Regions from separate parts of the Homo sapiens genome. Here regions 1, 2, 3, 5, 6 and 7 are each linked to region 4. Evidence: promoter capture Hi-C in 16 types of primary human blood cells and fetal thymus (Javierre and others, 2016). All regions are on one chromosome and are shown on one strand. The core of a region is centred on a gene start or on the middle of the fragment in contact, and the rest is flanking DNA. Distances in the headings are between cores, read along the strand shown.

The links. Contacts are between HindIII fragments. The CHiCAGO score rates a contact against its expected background, and 5 or more counts as called.
Region 1: a fragment that was not itself captured here is called in contact with the fragment with the promoter of EDN1 in region 4 in 6 of 17 cell types (naive B cells, M2 macrophages, total CD8 T cells and 3 more); the score reaches 9.5 in naive B cells.
Region 2: a contact is called between a fragment that was not itself captured here and the fragment with the promoter of EDN1 in region 4, in 15 of 17 cell types (activated CD4 T cells, total CD8 T cells, naive CD4 T cells and 12 more). The highest score is 13.1, in activated CD4 T cells.
Region 3: a fragment that was not itself captured here is called in contact with the fragment with the promoter of EDN1 in region 4 in 15 of 17 cell types (naive B cells, total B cells, megakaryocytes and 12 more); the score reaches 16.6 in naive B cells.
Region 5: a contact is called between a fragment that was not itself captured here and the fragment with the promoter of EDN1 in region 4, in 13 of 17 cell types (M0 macrophages, M1 macrophages, activated CD4 T cells and 10 more). The highest score is 15.3, in M0 macrophages.
Region 6: a fragment that was not itself captured here is called in contact with the fragment with the promoter of EDN1 in region 4 in 4 of 17 cell types (naive B cells, megakaryocytes, naive CD8 T cells and 1 more); the score reaches 7.8 in naive B cells.
Region 7: a contact is called between a fragment that was not itself captured here and the fragment with the promoter of EDN1 in region 4, in 1 of 17 cell types (M2 macrophages). The highest score is 5.2, in M2 macrophages.

The regions. Positions count from the first base shown.
Region 1 is chr6:11,720,617-11,723,693 of GRCh38, reverse strand. It overlaps ADTRP (androgen dependent TFPI regulating protein), which reads left to right. Exons shown (of 6, transcript NM_032744.4): 5 at 194-345. Among named protein-coding and RNA genes, the nearest start is that of ADTRP, 57 kb to the left of the region's middle. RefSeq lists an enhancer at 281-1,480. The HindIII fragment of the contact is 749 bases long and covers 934-1,682 here.
Region 2 is chr6:11,669,087-11,672,250 of GRCh38, reverse strand. No RefSeq gene overlaps it. Among named protein-coding and RNA genes, the nearest start is that of ADTRP, 110 kb to the left of the region's middle. The HindIII fragment of the contact is 4,847 bases long and covers 1-3,164 here.
Region 3 is chr6:11,685,788-11,688,683 of GRCh38, reverse strand. No RefSeq gene overlaps it. Among named protein-coding and RNA genes, the nearest start is that of ADTRP, 92 kb to the left of the region's middle. The HindIII fragment of the contact is 2,932 bases long and covers 1-2,896 here.
Region 4 is chr6:12,288,813-12,291,956 of GRCh38, reverse strand. It overlaps EDN1 (endothelin 1), which reads right to left and starts at 1,596. Exons shown (of 5, transcript NM_001955.5): 1 at 1,264-1,596. The coding sequence starts at 1,327. RefSeq lists enhancers at 1,664-1,733, 1,744-1,843, 2,987-3,144. The HindIII fragment of the contact is 4,555 bases long and covers 1-3,144 here.
Region 5 is chr6:11,628,820-11,631,888 of GRCh38, reverse strand. No RefSeq gene overlaps it. Among named protein-coding and RNA genes, the nearest start is that of TMEM170B, 93 kb to the right of the region's middle. The HindIII fragment of the contact is 858 bases long and covers 959-1,816 here.
Region 6 is chr6:11,703,731-11,706,787 of GRCh38, reverse strand. The region is part of intron 2 of LOC340184 (a long non-coding RNA gene); the gene reads right to left. Among named protein-coding and RNA genes, the nearest start is that of ADTRP, 74 kb to the left of the region's middle. The HindIII fragment of the contact is 4,209 bases long and covers 1-3,057 here.
Region 7 is chr6:12,897,684-12,900,745 of GRCh38, reverse strand. All of the region lies in intron 4 of PHACTR1 (phosphatase and actin regulator 1), which reads right to left. Among named protein-coding and RNA genes, the nearest start is that of PHACTR1, 180 kb to the right of the region's middle. The HindIII fragment of the contact is 2,114 bases long and covers 369-2,482 here.

The DNA of each region.
Region 1 (3,077 bases), core at 59-2,558, 570 kb after region 4:
TCTTATTGAATCAAGTTGATTTACCCAGAAAAGCCTCACTTCTTTAGGTTTGTGGGAATACTACAGCTGTTGACAAACGTCCCTGATGGGTTCTCTTCCCCTGCCTGGGTACCAGTACCTCATTAATCCTGATGAGAAAATGGCTTGTTTTTCTCCTCCTGCTATAACCACCACGACTTCTTATTTCCTGCAGCATCCTATGGCTCTACTTTGAGACGGGTACCTGGGTGTATCCTGTGTTTGCCAAACTCAGCCTCTTGGGTCTAGCAGCTTTCTTCTCTCTCAGCTACGTCTTCATCGCCAGCATCTACCTACTTGGAGAGAAGCTCAACCACTGGAAATGGGGTCAGTGTATTTCTTTCTTAGCTACAGATGCGCTTCTTCCGTGTCTGCCTCTCCCCTTCACCTGGAAACAGAAAGAAAAACTAGCCGCAAACAGAAGCAATGATGCTTACTGTCTTTGTCCAAAGTACTCAGACAGGTCCTGCCAAGAGGTCCTGCCAAGGCAAGAGGACAGCGTTGGGGGTGGGGCACTCTTTTAAAGGACCCCATCAAAGGATCTCCCCTCCTCCCCCAAACAATGTGTCATTTAACTTTAGAGCTAAAAATAATCTTCTTTAGAAAGCCCAGGACCTAGAGAACAAGGTATTACCATCCCTAGCATGAATAAATAAAATCAGGGGTCTCCCCCTAACCCAAGTGAGGGCTCCAGGGACACAAGCTTTGAAAATATCAAGGTTTCATTTTGAGGGAAGTGAGTCCAGATAGCCCTCTCAGCTCCTCCCACCTCCTCCCAACTCAGCAGTACCTCATTAGGCTGCTCCTCAGCCTTCCATAAGACATTTACCAGATGAAATCACATCCTAGACTTGAGATTGAAATCCTCATTCAGACAGAGTCTTCAGCAATGAGAATATGTCAGTAAGTTAAGCTTTCTCGTTATAGGTGGGTACAATCCTGTTGCTTCTTCCTAAGAAAAAAAAATCATCTTAACTTAGTTAATTTTAAAATGGAAGATTTCATTCTCCTTCCTGCTTCCTCTCTCCCCACCCCACCCCAGAATATTTTTTTATTGTTGGAAAAGTAACTACCAGAAAGTCAGGCTGTAAAACACCCATGACTTGCTTCCCTACCCCAGGAGAAGCGCAGGAACTCTACCCTGATTCTGTATATAAGGATGGCAAAGAGTCACACCCAGTCCCCCACATCACTCGCCCACATGCCATTCTGTTCTATCAAAATAGAGATGGCAGAAGTGCCATCTTCCGCCCAATCTATGAACTGGTGTGAAAACATAAGCCCGTGTATGCAAAAAAAACCTGACAGTTTCAGAAGGTTCAGTACCAGAGTGTGCGTTTCTGAGAGGAAGCTGAGACCCTGGAGAAATAAGCACGCAACTTGGATGTATCACATGTTTTCTACTCTTGGAGAATTTGACTGGTTTAAGAAACTCTCAAGGGCAAAATTCTCTTTGAAAGCAAACACTTAAAAAAATGGAATACTAAAAATTACTTCCCAATCAGGATTCCAAATCACAGAAAATTATCGCAAAAAAAAAAATGTGTTGACATTTCAGATGTGTTGACATATAATTCTAACTAGTTTTGGCTCCTTGAAGTTCTGGGTAAAGATTTCTGATGCCTCCCCAAATCTCTCTCTCTCTATATATATTTAAAGAAGCTTTAAGATATAGGAAGTACAGAGAAAAACTTGATTACTTAGAGCTTAGAGAACAATAACTTTTAAAATCAATTGTATTGAGTTCAATAATGTATTGAGTTAATTTTTAAATTGTTACTCTATGGTGAATTTTAAACATCCATTGAATTAAAAAACAAAATTATCATCATATTTATTATTATTGAAATTACTATTCTCAATACAACGTTCTTAACAAGCCTCATTGTTTAAGTACTGCATCCAATTTTTAACTATAATTAGGTCTCAATAAACAGATAAGCTGGCATCATATGGACCCTCAACTACCTCATGTACATGCAAGTTTTCAAGTAGAAAGAGACGATTGTAAATGACTGTACTTACCTCTCGAGGTCTTTCTAGATTTTTAACTTTTTAAAGAAGAGAAAGGGTAAAAGGTCCTATTTAACATCAGAATAAGATCAGAAATGTATTAAATCTTGAACAGATCTTTATTAATTATAAATAATTTAATACGAATTAAAGAAAAATTAGATTTGTTAAAGTTGCAATGCAGTGAACACTTTTACATTGCTGAAAGCTAAATAACCTATGTGAACACATTTCCCCATGTCCTATTCTACTGAAAACACTTTCTAAGGCTTCCCCCAATTGACTGAAGAAAGTCCACACCCTTGGAATGACACACAAGGGCCTCTGTGACCCAGTCCCTGCTTTGGCTTTTGCTCTTCTATATGTGTGCCCCAGTGGCACCAAACTGCTGGTTTTCCCTCCACGTTGATGTTGTTTCTTACGTCCACGGGATTCTGTGTCTCCTCCAGTCTTTGCCTGGTTCATACTCATGCATTTCAACACTCGCCTCTTCCAGGAAGCCTTCCCTGGTCAGCCCAGGTTGGACTTCATGCCCTTCCCAGTGCTTCCCCCTTTACCTCCCAGTCACCAGACTTACCATTTTATCATGACTGCGGTTTTACTACTGCTTTAGGGATTTGTTTTTCCACTAGACCTCGGGTGTCTTACGAATTAGGGGTATGTCTTGTTCATCTCAAGATCCACTATTTCCATTAGCTTTCTCGTTGCCTCAATCAGTGCAGACAATAGAATATCCAAGGGCCTTTTTTCCTAGGTGTAAAGTACAACTTTTTGCAAAGGTGTTCTGGAGACAGCAGATAAGGAGTGACTCTAATGGCTGTAGAGTATTGGGCAGGGAGTTTAAGGAGTATAGGAGGGTGATGACAAGGCGTACCAGTTAGAGAGTTGTTGAAGACATGCATGTTAGGGCAGAAAGTATTAAACAGGGGAAAGAGCACTGGAATAGGAATCAAGAAAGCCACGGTAGATCGAGACCATCCTGGCTAACACAGTGAAACCCCGTCTCTACTAAAAATACAAAAAATTAGCCGGGTGTGGTGGCGGGC
Region 2 (3,164 bases), core at 304-2,803, 620 kb after region 4:
TGATTTTCTAACTTTCTGTAACTTTGCCAATTTTCTGTCTTGTTTCATCAATTACTGAGAGATAGATATTAAAATCTGCAATTACAAATGGGGATTTGTCTATTTCTCCTTGCTTATTTACTTTGAAACTTTGTTATTAGGTGCATTCAAGTTTAAGATTGTTATATTCTCTTGATAAAAATGACCACTTTTTCATTATAAAATGACTCTATCTCTTGTAATGTTTTTTGCTTTGAAATATACTTTATCTGACAGCAATATTGTCATCCCAGCTTTCTTTTAATTAGTGTTAGCATATTATATCTTTTTTCATGCTTTTATTTTTAAACTATTTGTATCATTATATTAAATGTAGATTTCTGTAGGCAGTATATAATTTGACCACTTCTGGTTTATAATGGAGGTACTTAGACATTTCATGTGATAATTGATAATTGATATGGTTAGGTTTAAAGCTACTATTTTGCTATTTGTTTTCTATCTGTTCTTTGTTACAGATTTCTTTTTCTGTGGCCCTTTGTATTAATTGAACGATTTTATTACTCCACTTCATCTCCTTCTAGCTCCTTAGCTAGATCTCTTTGTTTTGTTATTTTAGTGGTTACTCTAGCATTTACAGTATACAGTATACATCTCTAACTTATCACAGTCTACATTCTAGTAATGCTTATACCACTTCATCATTTATGATATTATATGTCCATGTTATTTCTCCCAGCCTTTGTGCTATGTTTACCATACATTTCACTTCAACATCTTTAAGTATGTTTTGTAGTATAGATCCAGTGGTGATGAATATTTTCACCTTTTTTATGTCTTCAAAGTCCTTCTTCATTTTTGTTTTTGAATTATATTTTCACCACAGAATGATAGATTGGCAGTTGGTTTTTTTTTCATTTTAGAATTTTAAAGATGTTTTTCTTCTTTTACTTAGATTGTTTCCAGTAGAAATTTTGCTGTCACTATTATTTTCATTCTTTTGTGTATATAGTACCTTTTTATCTGTTTTTAAGTGATTTTCTCTTTTTCACTAATTTTGAGCCATTTCTTATGTGCCTTTGTGTTTCTTGTACTTAGGATTTGCTGAGTTTCTTGGATATTTGGGTTTATGGTTTTCATCATATCTGGGAAATCTTCAGCCATTGTTTCTTTAGTTTTCTCTTTTTCCTTTCTTTCTCTTCTGTTTTAGAGACTCCAATTATATCTACATTACATTCTTTCAAATTATCCAATATATCAATGATGTTCTGTTCATTGAATTTTTAGTCTTTTGTTATCTCTGAATTTCACTTGGGTACTTTCTATTGTTATGCTGTTCAACTCACTAATCTTTTCTTCTGCAATGTCTAATCTGCCATTAATCCCATACAATGTATTCTTCATCTGAGGCAGTTTAGTTTTCTTTTTTAGAAGTTAAATATGAGTCACTGTTAATATTTTGTACAACTTAACATGTTGAATCTCTACTCTAGCTTTTTTTTAATAAATGGAAGGCACTTGTAGTAACTGTTTCAATGTCCTCGTTCCCTGATTCTGACATCTTGTGAGTTCTGATTTGCTTATGAGTTTTGATTGATTAATTTTTCTCAATATTGTTCATATTTCCCAATTTTTTATATGCCTGATAATTTCTTATTTGATGTCACACATTGTCAATTTTACCATATTAGGTAGTGGATTTTAAAAAATTCATATATATATAAAATTGAGATTTGTTCTGGGAGATAAATTATTTCAAAATAATTAATAGTTTAATTATTTTGAAATAGTTCAATTCTTTCAGGGCTTGCTTTTAAGATTTGTTAGGGAGTACTGGAGTGGCATTTAGTCTAGTGATAATTTCCCCTGCCTAAGACCCTTCTAAGTATTCTATTCCATGACTCATTTTCCAGTCTGGCCAGGCACAGACACTATTCCCAGCTTTGTGTGAGCTCTGACTCTGACTACCCTCTCTTCCTTTCAGGTGTTTTTCTCTGGTCTCAGGTAGTTTTCTTTACCATATGTGCTGCTCAGAATGAGTACCTCTCTAGAAGTACTGAGGCTCAGTGCTCAGGACTCAAGAAGGACCCTATGTACATCTTCAGAGTTATCACTCCATGCAGCTCTCTCCTCTCTGATGCTGTACCCTGAAAACTCTAACTACTGTGAACTCTCTGGAGGCTCCACCTCCTCAACTCAGGGTGAGCAGCAGACTCCTTTTGGGTTCACCCTTGCTGCACTGCAGCCTAGAAATTCTCTCAAGGTGGTAAACTGGGGCATTTGTAAGGCTCACGTCATTTCCCATCCCCATCTCTTAAAAATAACCGCCCTTCATTGCCTAATGTCCAATATCTTGAAATCTGTTTCTTCATATAATTTTGTCCAATTTCTTAGTCATTCCAAGTAGGAGGGGAAATATGGTTCCCTATTACTCCATTTTGGTAGGAAGTGCACCTTTTTTCTGCCTATTCCTTTCCTTATCAGTTTCTTTCAACTTAAATAACAGAGTCGATATCTATTGTTTGCGAGTAAGAGGTCTGGCAGATACACATCTACCTCTCCCTTTCTTTAGATACTCAATTTATCTCCCAGTCCTGTCAGTTTTATTTTTTAAATAGCTTCTTAATTGCTGTAAGTTTATATATGTGTGTATGTATATGTAGAATGTGGTATGTGTGATTATTGTGTTCCAGGTACTTTTCTAAGCATTTTACTTCTATTAATTTAATCCTCTCAATAACCCTATGATATAGAAATCATTATTATACCTCATTTGTACAGATGAGGAAACAGGCATGGAGAAGTAAAGTAAGTTTTCAAGTCATAGGGTAAGTGATTGAAAACCAGCAGTATGAAGCAGATCCTATGGAAACATTGCTGCCTTTTTACAAATACTTCTACTCCCTTACATCTCCACTTAGGTCTCCATACCGCCACCCTAGTTCAAGCTAGCATCATCTCTTGCCTGAGCTACCATGTAATTGGTGTTGTGACTTCCAAATCATTTTCTTCATTACAGTTAGAGTAATCTTTCAAAACCCAAATCTGCTTGTGGGGGATCCATCAGAGGGGTGGGAAAAACTATAGGGAAAGGACGCAAACCTTCTGAAAGGTCAGAAGGTTCTGCAGAGCCCCAGGGGGAGAATAGCCGAAGGCAGCTGTTCTATAACCCTGAGGCAGAGGGC
Region 3 (2,896 bases), core at 190-2,689, 600 kb after region 4:
CATAAAAAAGTAGAAAGAGCAGTTTTTTAAAAAATGTCATATTCAAATATAGCTGAATGTATTTACATATTACACTATGCATACATATTGTATTTACCCTCTTCTATTCATGTGTACATCACATGTAAGAAGCAGCAATAAAGTTACTGGCAAACCTTTGTTTTCCAATCCTGGCCCAGCTTTCCTCCAGCTGTGTTACTTCAGAGACATAATTCAGCCTATCGTGCCTCAGCTTTCTCATGTTTAAAAATAAGAAGTTAGAAAATGTGATTTCTAAAGCCCTTCCAGCTTTAAAATTCAGTCATTCTTTGATATGCGAGATAATGGACAATTGTGAATATTAAGGCAACACAATCCTCCTCTCTCATCCTCAAGTGGGAGGGGGTTAGTTCATATTAATCACAGGCAACCATGGACTTGGTTGCATTTTGAGTCGCATTCAACTAAGAACATTGGCCCTTTCGACTGTTTTGGGATATTTGCCTGCTGTAGAACTACTTACCACAGCCATGTATCTAGCTACCTACAGACGTACGCACATACACACACACACACACACACACACACACACACACACACACAGAGAGAGAGAGAGAGAAAGAGAAGAAACAAAGACAGCAGAGTAACCAGGTTAACAAGAGTAGCCGAGTTAGCAGAGGATTGTAGGAGGAGAGAATAGAAGAAATACGACACCCTCACAGCTTTCACAAATTGGCACGATCCATATGCATTGCTGCTAATTACAATAATCATCTCCTTCTACAGCGAGAGCACTACTTGACCCTGTACCCACGTTTTATTTATTTATTTTCTAAAGCATTTCTCTTCTCCTTTATCTTCTCCCTTAGGCTATTAATTAACTGCAGTGAAGGATAACAGAGGCCCCCATCACAGGGTCCATTTGGCCTGTCCCTGATCCCTACTATCTTGAAACACTCCTCACACTTTGAAAACCAACAGCGCATTCCAGCATGACCCAGAAGATAGCCAGGTCTCTTCCTTTCTCTCAACCCCTCGCTTTCAATTTTTGTTGCAGAAGAATTATGAGCACGTTTGAAGCTAACCATATTATTTCCTTTATCATCATCCTGAAAAGTTCCCAAAGAAGCATTGGAAAGGCAAAATTCTATTCTAAGCTACACCCTCCTCTGTGGGCTTAGCTAGATGCAAATAGATTTAAGTGAGGCAGAACTATGACTGCCAAGCAAGGAGATGGATTCCATACACGATGTGGGAAAATTAATCTCACCTTATATAATCAGTGCCTAAAGCAAGGGACTCACACTTCCTTCCCTCTCCCCAAATCCCTGGGAGATTGTGAAAATGGATCAAGGAGCCGCGATGAAGTGTTTATATATTTTTAAATGTATGTTCCTCTCTCTTTCTTTTTCTTTCTTTCATCTCTTTCTCTCTTTAACACAGACCTCTGTTGATAAATAATGGACTGTGGCAAAAGAAAATTGACTAAGACTCTAGCCAACTTCAAATAAATTGGCTACTGGCACAGCTGAAAACATAACTTAGCTTAAATGAGGTTTCTTTCCCATTCTACAGAATCCCCCAGCAGCAAACACCATAAACCTAGAAGGTGCATCCTGACTTGTATTCTATAAATCCGTGAGCTAATAAATAATGCTCACAGTGTAAATGAGTGACTCCACAGAGACTACGTTAAAAAGAAACATTTCATAGGGAAACCAATAATATTTTCTTTTCAAGGGAAAATATATGTCCTCTCCTATATCCTTAATTACAGCCCAGACTCTAACCATGTCTTACAAGTGTACTAAATGAAAAAGTGGCTAAAACTTCATCCTAGTGCACTTTATTAGTGAGCCAGTTATTAAGCTATTCTCTCGGTATCAAACTCAAACTCATGCTTCTATACTTGGCTTTGTGATTCTGGGGCTGACTTTGCAAATCCCATTTCTGCTTTACCAGCTCCCTCCAAGTGTGTCTTTCCTTTTCTTTCCTTTTTTCTTTTTTTTTTGAGACAGAGTCTCACTGCACCCAGGCTGGAGTGCAGTGGTGCAATCTTGGCTCACTGCAACCTCTGCCTCCCAGGTCCAAGCGAATCTCCTGTACTCCCACCTCAGCCTCCTGAGTCGCTGGGATTACAGGCACCCACCAACAACCCTGGCTAATTTTTGTATTTTTAGTAGAGATGGTATTTTTGGTAGAGATGGAGTTTCACCATGTTGGCCAGGCTGGTCTCAAACTCCTGACCTCAAGTGATCCGCCCACCTCAGCCTCCCAAAGTGCTGGGATTACAGGCATGAGCCACTGTGCCTGGCCCCAGGTGTGCCTCCTCTAATAGTGGTGGGTGGAGGAAGACCAGATGGCTGGAGAAGAAGAAGGCACTCACTCTTCTTGTTTGCGTACCGTTGCTGTCATCATCGCCCAGCCTCACTCCTTTACTTTGGCAGGGATGGTTAGGGAAGTAGCAGAAGATTCCAGTTGTAGTTTTCCAATATTCATACCCCCTCAGAAACACTAGCAGGTGGCTATCCTTTCCTTGGGGGTCTAGAACCCAAATCAGTAGGACCAAACATCAACAATGGAATTGTGGGTTTGCTTTGGCTGGGTCCCTCATCTTGAATGCAGTGCTGAACTTCCTGCTAATGGCAAATGGAATTCCAGTAACCAGTGGCATGCAGTGACATCACAGTTTATAAAACTATTACCTGTGGTTGCTTTTCAAGTGCTTACTAAAGCAAGAGCCTTGGAAGAACCAAATGTCCTCTGCATTTGACTACTGCAGCAGCTACGATGACTACACGGGTGATAGTATGGAATGGCTCCCTCTGAATGCCCTAAAGCACTTGCATAAGGAAAAAAGAAAGAAAGAAAAAAAAAAGCCTGCTTCTTTAAGTTCTGAGCTTGAGTCATAGATAAT
Region 4 (3,144 bases), core at 347-2,846:
ACATTGGCACATGACTAAAGACAAGAAATCACAGTTATTCCTAGCTTTGGGGCCACTTCCCCATTCAGGATGACCCTCTCTTTAGGGGGTACCCATCCACTTCACATGCTGTGTAGGGCACAGGGTACCCCAGATGATGTATATCTTTCAAAATTAGGTGGGGAAAATGATTGGAGAGAGAAATTAACTATTCAATATTCAATTCAGGAGGGTAACTCCATAGAAACCAGTGACCTAAGGTGGGGCTGAGAAGCAGGTCAGGGGACTGAAGGTAGGCTGGGGGGATTTTGAATTCCGAATCCCTGGGCATCAGGCTTGTGTGGGATCCACTGCCTCCCCCTTCTCCACTACTGCCTTGCCTCTTCCTCCTAACAATTTAGCCATGCAGCTTATCTGCCCAATTTTGTACATTTCAAATGATCAGACACATTCCAGGATTTTCATTCCCTTGACATCCTTTCTCTTTAGTCAGGGTCACGAAAAGACAAAAAAAGTGCACTGACCCTAAAAACGGGGGGGACCCGGGCAGATGCACACGCACTGCCTAAATCCTTCGGCAGCCAAGAATTATCCTAGCTCCCCTCCCAGCACAGGTGAATAAAGCTGAAAAGAGAGCTCACACTGTTTTGGGTGCCAAAAACCTGCCAAAAGAAACCTAAAGTCAATGATGACAAATTTTAAAGAAAACATCTGCTTCACCCAGAAACCGCCTGCGGGGGGTGGTGGCGGGGGGGGGGGGAGGCGGTAGTTAGTCAACAGACTTTTGCTCTGCAGGTGATTTTACTGAACATACATTGCTTGAACGACTGGATACAATTCCTTGGCTTCAAGCTGGAATGCTTAAATATTTTACACGTTAACACACTATTAAAATAGTGTTTAAATAAGATTTAAGTTCCTATATGGCCTGTGTACCTGTATAAACACATATATTACAAACATACATTTGACTAAATTGTATATGTCCATACTCTTCTCATTTTTTAAAAGCCAAGGAAACACATAATGGAATAATAATAATAAAACGATAAGTTATTTTAATGTCATGTTATAGTCAATTGCACCTAATTGTATTCAATAGAGGAATTTTACATTTTACACTAGAAGACTTAAAGTAGCTTTCAGCAATAATTCTCAGACACTTGCTCTCTAAGCTGCAGTCATAAAAAGAACGGGGAAAAATAGAAGCAAGAAAAGCATGAAGGTGGATAAGAACACACTAACTTGTAATTCCGAGACTTACAAGTCAACGAGCGTGCCTACCTGTTTCTGGAGCTCCTTGGCAAGCCACAAACAGCAGAGAGAAAATCATGAGCAAATAATCCATTCTGAAAAAAAGGGATCAAAAACCTCCCGTTCAAACTGAACCCAAAGGAAAACGAAGAAAAACAGCTTCAGGTCCCTCAAAGCGCTGCGGGTTCCTCAGATCTCAAAGCGATCCTTCAGCCCAAGTGCCCTTTTAACGGGGAGAAAAGGCAGCGCCTGCCAGGAGAGAAGGCAGCGAGCGGAGCGTCTGCAGGCGCACGCGGCGGTGGAGAGCTGGGACTGCAGGAGGCGCAGGACCCGTTCGCCTGGCGCAGATGCAGAGGCGCGTCTGACTTGGACAGCTCTCTGCCGGCTTTTTATATTGAACCCCTATTAGAGTGGGGGTAAACAGCTCCGACTTTATTCCAGCCCCAGACAATGTTATTGTGTTATTAGTCACCAACAGGCAACGTGCAGCCGGAGATAAGGCCAGGCCCGAAAGGAAATCACTGCTAACTTCAGAGGCAGACGCCCGCCGTCTGACAATTCGGGGGCAGGGCTAAGAAAAAGAAAATACCCATTAGAGACCTTTGCTAAACCTGCCCGTGCAGTGCTGGAGTCCGCTTCCCCTTTGCAAGCTGCCAGCCCCGGAGTTCAAGAATCAGAAGAGGGGACTCCAGAAAAAAAGTCATACCATTGGTATGAAAAGTATGAGCCACAGTTTAAATAGATTGTATTGTTGTGTGCGGGGAATTTTTTTTAATTGTTGCTCGCTTCATTTTCCTTTTATGTCTCTCCGATTCTAGTCTCAGTCAAACAAGGGAATGCTCTCCCTCGTCACTGCCCCACTACTGGGGGTCAGACTATTTTGGCAGATCAACGTACTTTTCTCTTCAAGCCCCTTCCTGCGGGTCTTTTTTGCTGAAGTTCTTTGCATCTATCGGAGAAAGATCCGTGAGGGATTGGCAAGAAAGGGAGCTTAAAAATAACATCAGAGCTCGTTTAGGCACATGCCCAGTCTTTTCCCTATCACTGATGAGAAGCCCCGATAAGTTCTTTTGTGTGTCCACACTTCCCCTGCGGAGGAGGCTGATAAACTGATTGAAAAGCAAAGGTGTTTTTCACACAGAACTTAAATCTTAAGATTGGTCGGTGCCACCAATCTTAAGACATGGCGGGAGAAGAACACCAGGGGGAGATGAAGAGCTACAGGGGCTGATGTTTTACTAGGACAAAAAGGAAAACCCTTCTAAATGGCAGAAAAAAACGCAACCTGGCTTGGGGGCCGAGGAGGGTCAAGGAATGTTGCCTAACATAGGAAGGAGGAATGCACCTCAGAATATTCTATTTATTCCCCGCACAAGCAGGGACATATTTTCTGGGACTCTTTTTTTTGGGGGGGTGTCTTCATTTAGGGCAAAAAGGTGTTCTTGTACAAGGTTAAGTGAATATGCAAGGAAGGTGGTGCTGAGAAGGAAATGCCATTCGAACAAGGAATCAGATAATACTTCACATTTAATAATGTGTTTACATTTTCAAAACAATTTCCTGTCTATCTAACCTTGAAATCCCCCCCTGAAGTACACACAGGGCAGTTACTGTACAGGTGACATCATGCCTTAATAAAGAAAGCAAAAGGTGCATGGAACACATTGGCTTTTTCCGCTAGTCCCATTTTTCAGGTTAGACAACTGAGCACCCAGAATTTTTGTTTGTTCTCCACCAAAGCGCTCACAGTGGCCCAGTAAGACCTATGGGATAAATTTAGAGTCTCTTCCCAGGGGATGCCATCAAATACACACTTTGTCCATCTCCTCTTTTTGTTTTACTCCAGTTTTTCTGGGGATGGAGGGTGGAATTCAAGCACGGATGAATTTCCAAGACTGGCACAACACACAT
Region 5 (3,069 bases), core at 138-2,637, 660 kb after region 4:
TGGGACCACAGGGACAGGATAATCCACCCTTAGCTTGAGGTTTCAAAGCGGTTTTCCCAGAGAGACTTCACTCATGTTAAAAGATATATTTTTGGCCTTTTTTCTGATCATTTAGTGGCAAAGATTTCCCCAACCTGGCTTTCTTCTGTCAACACTCCGTACAGCAGCTGTCTGTTCATGCCTCTGTAGTATGAAAGCACCTCAAAATCGGCCATGGAGGGCTGAATGCCTCTCCGGCCTGGCCCAGAGAGCTTTTCTAGTCCAGAGGTGTAGACGCCATGGGGAGAAAAAGGCTCTGTGTTGGGGACCAGAGGTACAGGGAGGAGAAAAGGCAAATGCTTGCTGCATCTCGGGAAATTTTTGCCAACAATGTTGTCCCAGATGCAGAGATGACAATGTCATCCCGGGTGGAACCTGGACTTTTAGACACTCTGGGGGACCCTCTTTAAGAAAAAGAAATAAAAAGGATTCCTCTTACAAACTGTCAGACACAGGACTTATGTAGACATTGGCGGGTTCTTCGCAGCAAGCAGGCCACCGCAAGTGAGGGGCCCTCAGGCTTCAGCTTCATGTGGCCTTCATGGCAAATCCACCTCTGCTCAGTGGCCAAGAAATGGTCTTTCTCTGGAGGAAACAACTGGGAGCCAGCCCGCCCTGTGTAACTTAATTATCTGTGAACTTCACAGGCAGAATGGCAGCTGTCACTGACAGGGCCCAGCCAAGCGTCCCCTGCGTGTTCCCATGGGTCTCCAGGAAGATGTAATTTTATTTTCAGAGCACAGACTTTCTTCAGCATTTCAGTTTGGCATCCAAAATTTTCACAGGAAAGCAAATGACAGCACCCGTCAGAAAACAAAATAGCCTTCCCATTACATGTTTATTGCTGTTCTAATGAGCCAAGGGCACAGGATACTACTTTTTAAACAACATAACAAAAATATTTGCCCTCAATAAAGCTTGTGTTCTCCTTCTTTAGAGGTTAAAAATGTCAGAGATTTGAACATCTCACATTAAAATCAGCAATGTATTTATTGTTTTTGTTCCCACCTAACACAGAGTGTTGCTAAAGATTAGGAAAAAAGAGTCAGATGAGCAGGTGGAAGTTGATCATATTTTTCATCATCATTGTTACTAGGGTGACTGTGGCTGTTCTAATACTACTAACCGTAAGAGTAAGCAGTTCTCCATAAGACTTGACAAGTGAAATGAAAATTGCAGCAAGTACCAACCTAAGCAGACTTTAGGAAACAAAACATACTCGAAATGGTAACCCTGAAGAGTTTTTCCCTCCCATATTTATCCCTTTCTCCACACCTGTGTTCCTCAGGGAAGCAACCCTCCACGAGACACAATTCTGACTGGTGATGTGTAGGCAGACGTCACTGGGGAAGAGGCCTAAAGCCAAAGGGCAGAGCTTTGTTAGGAGAAAGCTCTTCACTCTGTAGCCCTCTTACTTCTTCCCATTCTCCCTACTGGATAGCCTGGGGGTATAGCAGTCACACTAAAAAACAGATAGGCAAGTAGGAAGGAAAGCCCTCTGTGCTGAGCAATGGGAAGACGACCTTGAGCAATAGGAGGGTGCCATGTTTGGGTCACACACCAGCCCTGCCCTGGCCTCCTCTGATGATTATTTTCTGAGATAAGCATACCTTTATTTCTTTAAGCCACCATCAGAAATATCAAGAGTTCTGATACTTGTTGCCAAATACATTTCTAACTAATGCAAGAGAAAGAAAGAACCTGGTCCCCTCCAATTCCATCATAAATATATTCGCAAATTATGGGACGAGCGAAAGCGTTCTATGTTCTCTAAGCTTCAGTTTTCCCCTGGGTAAAATAAGTAACTGTTCTTGACCTGCTTCTTTATGGAGTTGCTCTGAGGATGAAATGATATATGCGAGGACACTCTGAAAACTGTCAATTGTATATGATTATCAGTAGTGGGCGCCATGCTAGGAGCCCAGTCTTTGTGCCCATCTCTGCTTGGGTGTTAGGATTAGCCACTAAATAGAGATCTAGTTTCAAAAGTCTTCTTACAAAAGGCTTCTCTGGCATAGAGGTGCCCCAGAGATAAAGGGCCAGCTAACACAGAAAGCCAAGTACAGAAACTCAGAAGAAATATTAGAGTGAGGGTTAGAGTGCCCCCCCATTAACAGTGTCAGAGGAACCACAGAACTGGTGGATGATGAGGAATTTTCTGGTACAACCCTGCATTCATTGCCTGAGGCTACCGCAACAAATGATCCCAAGTTGGGTGGTTTATTTTATTTATTTATTTATTTGTTGAGATGGAGTCTTGCTCTGTCGCCAGGCTGGAGTGCAGTGGCGCCATCTTGGCTCACTGCAACCTCTGTCTCCCAGGTTCAAGCGATTCTCCTGCCTCAGCCTCCTAAGTAGCTGGGACTACAGGCACATGCCACCACGCCTGGCTAATTTTTGTATTTTTAGTAGAGACAGGGTTTCACCACGTTGGCCAGTATGATCTTGATCTCTTAACTTCGTGATCCACCTGCCTTAGCCTCCCAAAGTGCTGAGATTACAGGTGTGAGCCACCATGCCCGACCTATTTTATTTTTTTCTTAAAGACCAGTGTAACAGTATTGGGTACTTCAAAGCAACAGAAACTCATTTCTTTCACAGTCCTGGAGGCCAGATATCTGAAATCAAGGTGGCAGCAGGGTTCATTGCTTCCAGGGGCTCACAGGGAGAATCTGTTCCTCGCCTCTCTCCTAGCTGCTGGTGGCTCCCGCCATCTTTGGCATTCCTTAGTAGCAGGTGTATCACTCCAAGCTCTGCCTCCATCCTCCCATGGCTTTCTCCTCCCAGTGTCTCTGTGTCTGCTCCTTTTTCTTTGTCTCTTGAAACAACACCCCTCACTGGATTTGGGGTCCACCCTATATCAGGATGATCTCGATTTGAGATTTTTATTTAAATGACATCTACAAAGATGCTTAATCCAAATAAGGTCACATTCTGAGATTCTGAGTGGATCTATATCTTTTGGGAGCCACAGTACAAATCCCAAGAGTATCCCTCAGATGTTCTTGGGTCCAAGTCCTGGGTAACAGG
Region 6 (3,057 bases), core at 269-2,768, 590 kb after region 4:
GTGACATACCCCTTTATTTTCTAGGATATTGTTTCCTATTCCATTAAAATATGTCGTGACCATGAAATTGATGTCTTAATCCAATAATAGTGTTATTAAAAAATAATGAATTTCTTAATCCAATAAGAAATTAATGGATAGGGTTCAACTTAGTTCAGTAAGTTGGACAACACTGCACTCCACCACACTGTAGGGTTCGTTCATTCATTATACAGTGCCTACTAAATGTATGTCCCTGGCCATATGCATGCCATGGCCTGAGTGTAAGGACATGGTGGTCATCCACCTGGCATTTGCAGGCCTGTATGGAGGATTGCATGCTTTCATCTTGCCGCTCCTTTGGGACGCCAAGCCTGGCTTTCCCAGCTTCCTCTGTTAGCAGCTGCTCTGCTAGACTCAGCTCCTCTGAGATGCTAACAGGAAGAAGAAAAAGATCCCTTCCACCGTAAGAGCTTACAAAACCTTCCGCTGAGGCTTAAGTCTGGCCTGAGCAAATATATTTGGTTACACTTTAGGGATTTGTTTTCACTCAACACTAAATTTTATTAAGATTCTAATAATGAAGTTAGATGACATAGAGTTAGGAAAACATGTACTGTATGACTTTTACAATACCTTGCCAGGAATCTGGTACGTGATTCTGAAGACTCCCATCTAGACATGTTTTATTCCTTATTAAAATTTTTCTAGCTACATTCTAAAATGCACTTATGTTGTCATTTTATATATATACATTAACTGAACTTTGCCAATTTTTTTTTTTTTTTTTTGAGATGGAGTTTCACTCTTCTTGCCCAGGCTGGAGTGCAATGGCACAATCTCGGCTTACTGCAACCTCCGCCTCCTGGGTTCAAGTGATTCTCCTGCCTCAGCCTCCCGAGTCGCTGGGATTACAGGCGTGTGCCACCATGCCCAGCTAATTTTGTATTTTTAGTACAGATGGGGTTTCACCATGTTGGTCAGGCTGGTTTCGAGCTCCTGACCTCAGATGAATCCACCCACCCTGGCCTCCCAAAGTGCTGGGGTTACAGGCGTGAGGCACTGCACCCGGCAACTTTGCCAATTTTTAAAATCATGTGGTTAAATAAAATTCTCTTTCTTGCAAAATAGATTGCAGTATCACTGCCAGTATTTCTCCTTTTCCAGACTCATCCTGCCATCATGACCTTTTATTGCCGTCACATATCACCAAACTAAGAGGAAGAGGCCAAAAGAACTGCTGGACACCAATTCAGAGTTTTCCCACTCAGCAATGTGGATTTCCATGTAATCCTCAAATCAAGGGGAAGGAAAGAACCATTCCAAAATGCCCTGCCAATTCACAGAGGAACATATCTAAGTCCACTTGGGAACCATTTTAGACCCCAAGCATGGAAGACACGGATTATTTGCATGACTATATACACAATGACAAAGGGAAACTTACCCATTCATTCTAGGGCTTAACGAAAATGCCGCGGCTGCATGAATCGTGGTTCTGTGGTCGCTTATTGGGAATGGGATTGAAAGTATAACTTTAAGGGGGATCCCCAAGATGACAGCCAAGAAGATGCTAAGCTATTTGTGCATGAGGTGCTTGTGAGATAGAGATCAAAGGATAACCAGCTGCTCTTCCCTGGTTGGTGAGTGGAGGTGCCCGAGAGGGCACTCTTTGGTGTTGACTTATTGCATCTCACCTTGTCCCTTCCTAAACTCAACTCTTGCCATTTCACTGTATCCCTCACACAGTCACACTTGAAAGGCCCTCCAAGCACCAGTGGCCTTTGTTCCTAGCACAGAAATCATCGCCCTAGACTGCTTACCTAGCATCTAAATAATCCCAATTCACATTTAGCTAAAATTTCACTATTACTAAATTTAGTTATATTTGCAATATAAATTTATTTTAGTTACAATAACGTAGAAGTAGTATAGTTACTATTATTATCTGTTTTAGTTTCCTGGAGCTACTATAGCCAAGTATCACAAACCAGGTGGCTTAAAAATGATAGAAATGTGGCCGGGCATGGTGGCTCCTGCCTGTAATCCCAGCACTTTGGGAGGCTAAGGTGGGTGGCTCACGAGGTCAGGAGTTCGAGACCAGCCTGGACAACACAGTGAAACCCCTTGTACCGTCTCTACTAAAACTACAAAAATTAGCTGGGCATGGTGGCGGGCGCCTGTAATCCCAGCTACTCGGGAGGCTGAGGCAGGAGAATCGCTTGAACCTGGGCAGTAGGGATTGAAAATTGCAGTGAGCCAAGATCGTGCCACTAGACTCCAGCCTGGGTGACAGAACTAGACTGTGTCAATAAATAAATAAATAAATAAATAAATAAATAAAATAGAAATGTATCCTCTCACAGTTCTGCTAGCCAGCAGTCTGAAATCAAGGTGTCAGGATTACTATGCTTCCTCTGAAGCCTCTGAGGAAGAATCTTTCATCCTGGTGGCTCCCACTAATCCTTGGTTTGTGGCCACATCACTCCAATATCTGCCTGTTTCCACATGGCATTCTTCCCTGTGTGTCTCTGCACCTCTTACCTTACAGAGAATCTGGAATCTGTATTCAAATCTCCCTGTCCTTTCTCTTATAAGGATGCTAGTCACAGATTTAGAGTCTACTGTAAGTCTAGTATCATTTATTTCAGGATCCTAAACTAATCACATCTGTAAAGACCATATTTCCAAATACGGTCACATTCGGAGGTTTTAGGTGGACGTGCGTATTGGGGGTGAAAGGGGTGAGACCATATTCAACCCAATACATTATTCCTATTTGACAAATGAGGGGATTGAGATGTTAAATTCCAGCTTTTAACACTTCTCACGTGTCTTTCCTGGTTCAAGGAGTCACCCGTAATTTATACCATCTGTTGAGTGCCCACTACAGGACAGGCATTTGCAATTCATTATCTCTAGGCCTCACCATGCTCAGAGAGACAGGCATCATTCTCTCAATATTAAGGAAAAAGAAACTGAAGCTCAGTAAGGTTGACAGATTTTTCCAACAAAGAATTACCCAGTGACAGCACAGAGCTCATTCTGGCTGGCTCTGACACCTACCCCCTTTCCATT
Region 7 (3,062 bases), core at 176-2,675, 610 kb before region 4:
GCACTGAACATGGACTTTAATATAAAAATTGATATGTATATATATTTTGAGACAGGGTCTCACTGTGTTGCCCAGGCTGGAGTACAATGGCACAATCTCTGCTCACTGCAGCCTCTACCTCCTGGGCTCAGGTAATCCTCCCCACTCAGCCGCCCAAGTAGCTGGGACTACAGGCACACACCAGTACGCCTGGCGTAGTGTATTTTTGTATTTTTTGTAGAGACAGGGTTTCGCCATGTTGTCCAGGCTGGCCTCAAACTCCTGGACTTAAGCAATCCACTCACCTCAGCTTCCCATGATAAAATATTAAAATAAGCCAAGACAATGCAAAAGAACAAACAATTTTAGAGACCAGAAAATGTAAAGCTTGAAAGCCTCTCAGCACAAGATGAGTGGGAGTTAAAGTAAGATGAAAGTAATAATAAATCACAAGATAAAGGTATCCGCTTCGAAAAAAAAAATGATGAGCTAAATGGAAGTTGTTTAAAAACAACAGAAAGAGGGGGAAGGAGGGATTCAGACAAGTTAAAAATAATAAAGTAAAAAATCTTAAGTTCAAGCAATTTAAGAGGCCAATCTTTAAGAGGAAGAACAAGTGGTTTGAAGAAGTGAAGCAAGGAGACCAGAAGGCGATACAGTGGGGTGAGGTATGTCAGAGATAGGGTTGCCAGATAAAATATTTGTTAAATATTTGCTAAATCTGGCCAATGTGCTTCAGGGAGGGTCCACTAGACAGAGGAGGTCCCCTAGCTTGGTTTTCTGGCTGCCAGGGCAGGGGCCACTGGTGGTGTAAGGGGGCAAGCTGTGTCCCCAGTGATGATGGCCCTCTTGTGACCACCATGGAGCCCATCCCTCTCAGTGGGATGGACACAGGGAGGCACCACACATCACAGACCCGGGCGTGCAGTCTCCTGCGCAGTGAGCTCATGCCATGCTGGAAAAAAGCAGTTTCTTGATCAATCGTAATGTCATACACTTTCCTCAACAATTCCTTCTCATTTAGAAAGACAGAGTTGATCTGAATGTGAAACCACACTGCAGGGCTTATCCTAAGCATAAAGATGTCCTTTGGGAGTCTTTTCAACGCTTAAGCTATTCTCAGTCAACCCAGAAGAGGGTGCAGGCAAACACACAGTGACTCCAGTACCTGGAAATTGCAGCTTGCCTCTCTTGTCACTGACTGTTTTATTACTTTAGTGTCTGATTTTTATGAATACTTGCAAGTAACTACAAGGCACACCCTTTTAATTATAGTTTTATTCATTCACTCAGACAAATTAAAGGAACCCTATTAGCTGGGCTATTTTAACAGTTTATGACATACAGATATGTCTGAAAATTACATTAACAGGTAAAAGGCTGATATATCATCTTTCTCTGGGGGTGCTGTTATTACTTTAATGCCTTTAAAATGATTATTTCCATCACTATTCCCCATAACAACCCTGCATTAGGAAAGTAAAACCTTGCTGCAATGAATATTTCTTGATCCCTTACTGTATGTCAGGCATGTGATAGGTGTGGGCAAATCATGAATAAGATTTGGCCCCTCCTGTAAGGAAGGTACAGCCCTATTAAAGTGGGGAAACCACAGACAAGCAGCAATTTCAGTCCAATGTAAGAAGTGATGTGAGGGAAGCACGCACAGGTGCTCTGGGAGAATGCAGGGAGGCCACTGTCACAGATACTGGGGACCAAAGGAGGCTTTACCAGGGAAGCTGCATATGAGGAAGCATAGGCCAGAAGTGGAGTGGGGTAGCTTTGCTGGTGGAAGCACATTTCAGACAGGCCCAGGGGAACAGCATGTGCAAAGGGCAAGGGGTGAGATACAGCGAGGCAAGTTGAAGGAACTGCAAGTACTGGGAACAGGGCTGCAGTGCGGTGCAGGGGAGCTGATCAACACATAGAAGGGTGGAAGGCAAGCGGGTAGATTACAGAGAACCTCACAGAGCATAAGCTAAGGAATTTGCATTCTGACATCGATGGGGAAGTCCCGGCAACAAGGACAGATTGCGGCCGACAGAGAGAGAAAGAGTGTTCTGCCTGCAGCACGAGACTGGATCCGAAAGAATGGAAGCAATGAGTCCTGCCAGGAGCTGGCCAAGGTGGTCCCAGTGCGAGTCAATGTCAGTAGCCTGGATTAAAAGTAGCAGCGGCCAAGATAAAAGGAGGCAGATATGTCTGAGACATTTAGGAAGTCGATTTGACAGGAGTTGGCCATTTGGTCATGAAGGAGGATTGCCAGGTTTCTGGTTTGGCAAATAGGCTCTTGGCATTGCTGCTGATGGAGACAGGAACTATAGAAGTGGGCTGAGGGCGAGTGGAGGCTGAGTCGGGGACATGTTGGGGTTGTGGGGTCTGTTGGACACATGGTTTTAGGATTGAGGAGGGCAAGCTCGAATGAAGTGGAGCTTTGAGAGTCATCAGCTCCCGTCGGTATTTGGAGACGAAGGAGTGGACGGATCCCTTGGGCAGGGAAGCTTTCCAGAGAAGAGAAAATGGTAGAGGGCAGGACCGTGTGTAAACATAAGGTTTAGGAGAACAAAAGGAAGGAGAAGTGGCAAAAATGGACAGAGAGATAGGAAAAAGAGAAACCCTAAGAGAATGAGGTGGCCTGAGGTGAAATAAAATGAGTGATTCAAGGAGACAGTGGTCCACAGTGCTAAATGCTGCCCCGGAAGTTCAGTAGAATAAAGATATCAGTTCATGTCCTTTGCAGGCACATGGATGAAGCTGGAAACCATTATTCTCAGCAAACTAACACAAGAACAGAAAACCAAATACCACATGTTCTCACTTATAAATGGGAGTTGAACAATGAGAACACATGGACACAAGGAGGGGAACATCACGCACCAGGGCCTGTTGGAGGGTGAGGGAATAGGGGAGGGAGCACATTAGGAGAAATACCTAATGTAGGTGATAGGTTGATGAGTGCAGCAAACCACCATGGCACATGTATACCTATGTAACAAAACTGCATGTTCTGCACATGTACCCCAGAACTTAAAGTATAATAATAATAATAATAATAATAATAATAATAAAAGATTACAAAGTGC